Regions from separate parts of the Homo sapiens genome. Here region 2 is linked to region 1. The links are contacts of gene promoters, found by promoter capture Hi-C in blood cells and fetal thymus (Javierre and others, 2016). All regions are on one chromosome and are shown on one strand. Each heading gives the region's core, a stretch centred on a gene start or on the middle of the fragment in contact. The rest is flanking DNA. Distances are from core to core; before and after follow the strand shown. Region 1 holds the start of TPH2 (tryptophan hydroxylase 2). Region 2 has its middle 39 kb from the start of LGR5.

Evidence for each region. The method cuts DNA at HindIII sites, captures the fragments that hold promoters and counts their contacts. A CHiCAGO score of 5 or more calls a contact.
Region 2: a fragment that was not itself captured here is called in contact with the fragment with the promoter of TPH2 in region 1 in 1 of 17 cell types (non-activated CD4 T cells); the score reaches 5.0 in non-activated CD4 T cells.

What each region holds. Positions count from the first base shown.
Region 1 is chr12:71,937,028-71,941,417 of GRCh38, reverse strand. TPH2 (tryptophan hydroxylase 2) reads right to left here and starts at 2,573. Exons shown (of 11, transcript NM_173353.4): 1 at 2,327-2,573. The coding sequence starts at 2,431. RefSeq lists a silencer at 2,408-2,707. The HindIII fragment of the contact is 5,670 bases long and covers 1-3,255 here.
Region 2 is chr12:71,398,550-71,402,939 of GRCh38, reverse strand. No RefSeq gene overlaps it. Among named protein-coding and RNA genes, the nearest start is that of LGR5, 39 kb to the left of the region's middle. The HindIII fragment of the contact is 505 bases long and covers 2,155-2,659 here.

The DNA.
Region 1 (4,390 bases), core at 1,324-3,823:
GGTCTAATTTATTCTGAGACACTATTTTCCAATGGTCTAAGACATCATCTAGTGGTTGAAATTAAAAGGGGATCAGATTTGCTTCACTTTAATAGCAACAAAAACCTGACTGTCGTAACGCCTGCAATATCATATATGAAAAATTCCTGCCTTTCTAGGATTATTTTACAGCACAAAATTTGATCTCTTAGCCTCGTTGAATCCTATGGAAACTATATTAATTACTAACCATATTAAAAATAAGATCAAACATATTTTTGAAAATAATTTTAGTTTCAATTAAATTTTAAAAACAAAATATCGATTTCATTCCAAAATATGTCAGCACATGCCCAGAAATTAATGGGTAGTATTACTTTCTTCAGTTAGATCCACATTGTCAATGTGAATCTGCCTGCAAAAGTTCAGCACAGACACATGTATAACTAACTCTAAGGCCATCTGTGTCAGAAGATAATATTTGAGAAGTGACTATTAAAATTCAGTGACAAATAAAAGGAAAAAAGGAGAAAGGCAGGAAGGAAGAAACCTGGCCAGCTAATTATTAGGGGCAAACAGTAAAAATCTGAGAAACTGAAAAAGATTAACACTTCATTAGCCACTTAAGATTTTATATTGCCTGATGAAGTAATGTCTATTAATCCTGCTGGCTAAAGAAAAAAATGACAGATTCCAGTAACTCAGGTCACATTGCCAGAAATGCAGAATAAAAAGCTGGAAACTTTATTTAGGAATAGAATGGGAGGAAACAAAACAAAAACAACAAGCTGGAAACTTTCATTTGACAGACAATGCAAAATTATGTGGTCTGTTTTATATTCTTTATATGCAAATACAGCATTGGGCAGACATAGAAGTAACTCCTGGCAAATGGTGATTTAATACAATCGTACCAATCTACTACATCCTCATGAAACTGAGAAATGTAGGTTTGCTTTGGGACCCAGTGAATAGTTATCTGCCATTGTCTTCTTCTGATTTCTCTACTGGCTTTATTTTCACACATCAGTATTGCCTTACTCACTAGATTTATATATAATAGAGATGGAGATTTTATTATTTATGACTTGAGGGAGGGAAGAAGTTTATGCAGACATTGACATTTGACAGTATGTTTAGTCATTAAAAGCTCAAATGTCTCAGTGTTCTTAACATCTGCCTCCTCCTCACCACACAACACACAGATCTTGCATACAGAAGTAGCATTTTTTATATAAAAGGGTCATACATTAACCATTACCCTGAGCTTACTTTGTTTTCCTTCTAGCAGTTAATTATGACTTCAAAACTCTTCATTGTAATATCTCATCCAAATATTCATGATATTTAAATGTTAAAAAATCTATTTACATTTTGGCCTCATTTTTGCAAATTGATTTAAATAATTCTACAGAAGTTGCCATGTTTACTTTTCAACATTTTTATCAGTAATAATATGTCAGTCCAACGCAGCCCTCTGGCACATATTTGGAGCTACGAAATTAAAACAGATGATTCTATGATACAGACTGAATTGGATTTGGTTGATAAACTCTGATAGTACAGTAATAAAATACCATTTAATATTTTTAATGACTAGGACCTGGATACATTTTTATTTCGTGGTTTTTATTAAATCCCATGACTACTACCTGAAAGCAGGATCTAAAATCCTGCAAATACTGCTTTTTTATCCTGTAGATATTATAAACATAAAACTCCCTTAAATACTATAGCAAGTGGTGTATTGCTTTCATTATTCCATCAAGTAAACTGAAAAAAATTGAGCAATGTGAAACACAGAAAAACTTTTGAAAGGAATCCAATCTTTCTTTTATTCCAATAACCTGCACCCATAACTAAGAAGAGAAAATAATAGTTCTATGTTTAAAGACCAGGCTTTGTAAACTGAAGGGGGTGTAGGAGACACAATGATCTTCTGAAAACCGTGGAAATTTATTTAATTTGTTCTCCCTACTCCTCCTCCTCATAATAAACGGCTTTTCAAAATTCTTCACACTCCATTTTTTTTTTTTTTTTTTTGGCTGTAGATTTAAGACATTGATTCATACAATCTCTCATTCTTAATGTTCAGGAACTTCTTAACTCTCTACTTACAAACTTTGCGGAAAAAAAGTTGAGCACGCAGTGATTGGCACACTCGCTTTACTTATGGAGAGAAGAGGAAGACTGGAGGCAGACAGGAGGAAAGCAGGGTAGACAGATTATAAAGAAGGAGAAATTTGAGGTGTGCGTGCTTACACTACAAAAGGGATTCATATGGTGAGGAGAAGATGGTCACACCCTAAAAAATAATTCTCCATAGTGCCAGGTACGTAGTACTCACTGTTGAGCTGCCAAGTAGCTGATGCTCTTCGGGCACTGCTGAATCCAGGGAAAACCCTCTCCGTGCCCAGTATTTACTGGAAAACATCATCATTGCTGGCTGCATGGATCCCGGTGTAATATTCTTTCTCTGCAGCAGGGGGTACTAGAGGGGCAGTAGCAGCGCTGGCGGAGATTGAGAGGAAGGGGCGTGCGATCAGCTGCCTGCTTGGGGCGCTGTCCAGAACCCTGGTGCTGAAGAGCAATGCGAATCCTCCCATCCCCGGGCTCCTTTATATGAATGACTGGAGACTGATGCAAGACTGATTAGAAAGAAACTCATTTCTGGTTGCCGATGGCCACAGTCAGATTACAGACCTGAAGCCTGGGGTTATCTGTGCTCATAGTGTGATTTGTTTCATAGGTCGAGTAGCTTTTTGGGCGGGGGTGGTGGAGAACAATACATAAGGGGGTGTTATTTGTACAAGAAACCATCTATCCTCTGACGTTAGTTCTCTCATCTCTCAAGCCTGCCACTGGCAAGTTAACCTCAGTCTTTAAGCAATTGTGAATTCAAAGATTTTGTGCTTTCTTTCCAAAATTAGAAAAATAATTTAAGAAAGATCAGCACTGCTGAATGCTTAAACCATTTTACGGATTTTTTAATTTTTAATTTTTATGGATAACTAATAGTTGTACACATTTATAAGGCACATGTGATATTTTGACACAAGCGTACAATGTGTAATGATCAAATAAGGTAATCAAGATATCCATTGCCTCAAGCATTTATCATTTCTTTTTGTGTTAGAAACATTCCAATTCCACTCTTCCAGTTATTTTAAAATACAAAAGAAAATAAATTATTGTGCTCCCGAACACTAGATCTTATCCCTCCCATCAGCATATTTTTTTTACTCATTGACCAACTCCATTTTATGTTAATAAGCTTTTTCTGACTTGACATATTCTAATTTTGTGCATGCAAATGTGTGAGTGTATATATGTGTAATGGCTTTCATAAAAGGGCTTCTTCTTAATCCTGTGATGCCTCTATGCAGAGTTATATGGAGGAAAATGTATTGCAAAGGAAAGGTAAGGGTTCAATTTAGCCACATGTAGATTACATATAGCTCAGATACTAATCCTGGAATCTTCCTTACTAAATGAGAAATAAAAGGAAACTAGATTCCCATATATCAGCCATTCATTTTAATACTCTTGTGGTTTTTCTCTCTACTGGAAATCATGGAAATTTAATCTTTGACATGACCCTTTCATATAAAAAGTGCTACTTAAATATACGAGATCTGTGCGTTATGTGGTGAGGAGAAAGCAGAGGTTAAGAGTACTATGACATTTGAGCTTTTAATGACTAAACATACTGTCAAATATCAATGTCAACTAGATCAAATCCAGCAACTTGACATGCATAGATTAATCAATATTCTTACTATTCAAACCTTAGAAAGTCATAAAATTCACCAGGCCACAGGAAAATGTTACCAATCTCCTGAAGAATGAAAAACTCTTGACCAAATGTGCTTGTTTGACTGAAAATCTAAACAAAATCTGGTGCTGGCACTGCTTGTCTATATAGAAAAAAAATTTCAAAACAAGTCGGGATGAACTAATATTGACTGAAGTTTAATTGTTTCTGGAGTCTTGAAGAGACATAATTATTAATTGATCTAATTCTGAAAATATTATTTGGCTTACATTTTCTGTAAGGGTCAGCTCTAATCAGCTAATAGGAGAAGCAAGTTTAAATAAGGCAAATGAACTAATGACAATAATAGTAGCTAATGTTACTGAGATGTAATGAAAGAACCAGAGATGTGAAGGGATAAAATCCACTAGATAGTGTCCCTGCTTGGATGTGGAAATGAGGGAAAAAAAGATATTAAAAGTAATTTATTTATAATATATATTTAGAATATTAAAGATTTAACTACTTTTGCTCACCCTGGAAACCCTATTAAAACAAGATAAAAAATTCCTTTTCAAGGTACACAAGAGTCGCATAAGTTGGAAAACAATGGCAACAAAAAATTAGCAGCTTGAAAGAAGAAAAAACTGATCAAAG
Region 2 (4,390 bases), core at 1,158-3,657, 540 kb after region 1:
AAGCTGTGGGTATTATTTCATAGTCCTTTTCCCGTGCAGAGGGTACCACTTTTCATCCTACCGTCTTAAATGCATATTTTTTTGTTTATGTGCTCTACTCAGGTTCTATAATCTCTCACTTGGATTCCTTAGCTCTTATAAAGATATTTTTGTGCATAGATAATTGTTCTAATTGATGATTTTAGGAGAAGGTGTGTGCTGGAAAGCCTTATTCCACCATCTTGCTGATGTCACTCTGGCAAGGACTTAGTTTTTTAAGTCTTATGTGTAAAATGAGAATAATAAAGGTAGTAATCTAATGGGATTGTTATAAAGACTAGAAGAGGCAAAGTGTTTTGCACAGTGCCAGGTGTATATATAGGGAGCTCTCTGTAAAGGTTGGCTGTTATTGTGAGTCTACCTCATTCCTTGTTAGCTCTCTGAACCTGGCAGGGGAACAATGAATAAGTCTGTAGTTGTTGAGATAGCTCCTGAAAGAAGATGGGTTCCTCACTAACACAGGGGCCTTTTTAAGAAGCAGAAAGAGAAAAAGAAAAGACAATCAAAATGACTGCTATTATATCTGTGTCTACATATACAGAATACTGCATCTATATCTCTATCTTCAGAAGCAAAGGGCTGACCCCTGCCAAAAAAGTTCATGGCATTAAAAGGCTGAATAGTAAGGTGAGATAAAAATTTTGAACTTTTTATTAATTTATCTCCCCTAAAACTTTTTTTGATGCATTTTCCCTATTTAAAATATTATAAAAGCGATGATGCCTACATAAAATTCTCATATATGTATACACCCGAAATTTCCATAAGTAGATGTATATGGACACATTCTGAGTAGACATATGCTGACACATTGATAACCATAACAATTCATGGACCCAGTGTTAAAAAGCACTACATTGGACATGAAGGATTATTTATGTAGTTCTCCCTTTATGCATTCTGAAATTTTTTGTTTTTACTTTAAAAAAATTCTACTTCCATTCTTCTCAGAAAGCTTGAAAAAATGAATATAAATCACTATGATATCACCATTAAAATGGCCAATGACTTTTTCTTCACAGTTTAGAAAATATTATACTAATAGAATTTAGGAGAAAATTAGTTTTAAGATGTGGTACAACAGAAGCAGAAAATGATACTCAGAGAACAATGCCATATATAAAGACTCTCGAGCTCAGCTGTGAGCACATTGGAACTGTATTTATGAAAGCCCTGAGAATTTTGTACAGGGAAGGTCAGAGAGTGTGATGGTCCTTCCTCTAGCTGGAATGGGTAGAGGGGACAGCACTGAGGGGAGCTCTGAGGTCTCTTCTGAAGTTTTTAGGAGCGGTGAGATCTGTGAATAGTTCAAAATCTTCTCCCAGATTTGGAGCTCTGTCAAAATCTTTGTGACTATGAAGACAGAGTAGGTGGAGAGAACCTAGTGCCTTGGGGTTCATTCCTTATGGCTGAGGAGTCTCTACCTCATCTGTAGTACTTGCTGCAATGTGGGGGTGAGGTCAGATAAAGAATTATGTGGAATGAACAGAGATTTCTCCTTATGTTCTGCCCTTCTGCTGGACTATTTCATTAGGTGCTCTATTCCTTTCTGTTGGCTTCCCACATCCCCAAATTCTCGGCCCTGTGCTTACGATGTTGAGTACAACTCTTCCTACACCTAGGAGCTCTAATTGGATTCAATGTCTAGTGTCTACTCCACAGACGTGAAGTTTCAGCTCTTCATTCTTTCATCCATAAATTTAAAATGAGAGTGAACTCTAAATTAAGAAGCTGAATCTCTAATATGGAAGTTGATTGAAAACATTGTATGGTCATTTATAAACTAATTTTTTATGGCTAAATTTACTCTTGGGAAATTGAAAATTATTAACTGCAAATCCAATATGCTACTGTGAATAAAATGATAACCAAAGATTTTATTTTATTATTTCATGAGGGCTATTTGGATCTGTAATGCAAGAAGCATTTCAAAGTTTGGACTGTGCTTTAAAAAAGTTGCCAAGTATGTTAAATTGTGCACTTAGTTTTCAATGTGGAGGAACAAATCCCAGATTCAATAATTCAATGAACTAACACAATTCTTCAGAGCTTTAAGTGTATTTGCAATTAAGACACTAATTGCTGTTCATTGGCTGATTCTTTCCCCAGAAAGCTTTGTTCTTCTGCAAAAATGCAAAGTCTTACTATTGATCTGTACTCTCAAAACCCTGTTGATTTAAGCAGGACTCTCTGAGGTGAGAACAACAACAAAACCAAGAGACTTAATTTACTCAGCTTGGGTTTCAGGAAACATATCTAATAGCAGACAGTTCCTGTTTTCATTGTTTTCCATTTAAGTCCCTGCAAAATCAGATTGTCTTCAAATAGATGCTGCTGCCATTGGTATAAGACTCATTTTCACATCCCTAAAGAAATAAAGAGTTTTGTAAAAATTCACTCGTTTAATGGGGCCTCACGTATAATGGGCCTAAGTCAAGCCAAAAGGATAAAGATGGATATCGTGCAAAAGCAGTGATAGAATGACAGCACCAAAGATGTAAAATGTATACTCTTTAGACTCTTTAATGTAGCCCTCAATCACCAAGGAATAATTGCAGGTGGATGGAGGTGAAAAGGAATTTCCTTTGAGAGCAATTCTATTTTGTCTGTTTTGGAAGCTTAATACAGGTTGGTATTAAAAACTTCTGAGGAAAGAAAGCAGGGGATGTAGTTTGAGAAAACTACTACCTGTGATTGTTCTCATTGTTTGGAAAGGTCCTGGGCTTGGCTGTTTTCCTGGAGTTTTGCCTGGAAAGAGATAAATTCTGACCAATCATTAATAATGCTAATGATAATAATAATAATGATGATGACTAATGTTTATTGAGCACATAGTATGTGTTACAGGTAGGTTATACACTAAGCATTATATGTACATATGTATATCGTTTATACATATAATATATATAAAATCTAAGTTAATATAGCAACAGTTCATAATGGTTTGAATTAATGCTTTCATCCTCAATGGCTGCATAGTGTGATGGTTAAAAGAAGCTACAGGATTTTATTTATTTCTTCTTCCACCTCCAATTAACTATGTGACCTTAAGTAAGTTTCTCTCTGAATCTTGGTTTATTAATCTATATAATGGCATAATAAGACCTATCTCATTGGGTTTTGTGAGGATAAAATAATGCTATCCAGTGGCAGAGACAGACGAACCACCCTGCAATACAGTATGATTAATAGGATATATTGAACGGTGCTCAGAGCACTTGCAGGAGGACTTTCTGTTCTCACGGGACTTTGGAAATGCAGGACTTTCTGGAGAAGCTGCCCTTTAAGTGGTAGCTTGAGTTACAGATGGGAGTAAGTCCTGAGAAAGTGAGGGAAGAGTGTTCCAGTTTGAAGGAGTAGAGTGTTCTTGGGGAATTGCATTTTGCTGCACAGCTGTGAAGGGAGTGGGGGCATGTTGAGAGTTGATGCCAGAGAACTCAGCAAACCCAGCTCATAAAGCGTTTTGGATGGCATTTTGGGATTTTGGACTTTCTCCTGAGATCAGAGGGAGGGTAATGAAGAGTTTAAGCAGGAGAGTGACGTAATTAGATTTGTTTTTTGTGACTTTCACTCTCTTTGAGATTAAATGTACTAAAACAGAGACCCTTCCCTGACCCCATCTTTGAGCAAACCCATGAACCCTCTTTGGTTTGTGGACTGTCATCAAGTGAGCTCACAGGTATTTTACTCCAGCTGCACTGATTTCTGTGATAGCATTTTCTTGCACTGAATTGTTTCCTTATCTGAGATAAGTGACATGGTTCAGAGGATAGTAAAATAGCATATCTACTCACAGACATGGCTAGGCCAAATGAATACTTTTTTTCTTCAGTTGCTTTATTGTTTGTTTGTGGATTATATACTTACTATATTAAATGCAGCTAAAATTTAATTTTAGAATGACTTTCAATTGCTTTCTTATGAATTGAAACCATTTACTGAGAGTTGACATGTACTTAGGCAAAGCAAGCCATTTTCTAATCACAGTAAAGTAAAACAATAGTAAAGAACATTTGCTTTGGGAGGCCGAGGCGGGCGGATCACGAGGTCAAGAGATTGAGACCATCCTGGCTAACACGGTGAAACCCCGTCACTACTAAAAATACCGAAAAATTAGCCAGGCGTGGTGGCGGGCGCCTGTAGTCCCAGCTACTCGGGAGGCTGAGGCAGGAGAATGGCGTGAACCCGGGAGGCAGAGCTTGCAGTGAGCCGAGATCGCACAGCTGCCCTCCAGCCTGGGTGAAAGAGCGAGACTCCGTCTCTAAAAAAAAAAAAAAATAACATTTGTAGATATTCTGCCTTTTCTTGTTTCCAGTCTGGAAGCTTGCTACTCGAGCAAAACATTCAATAA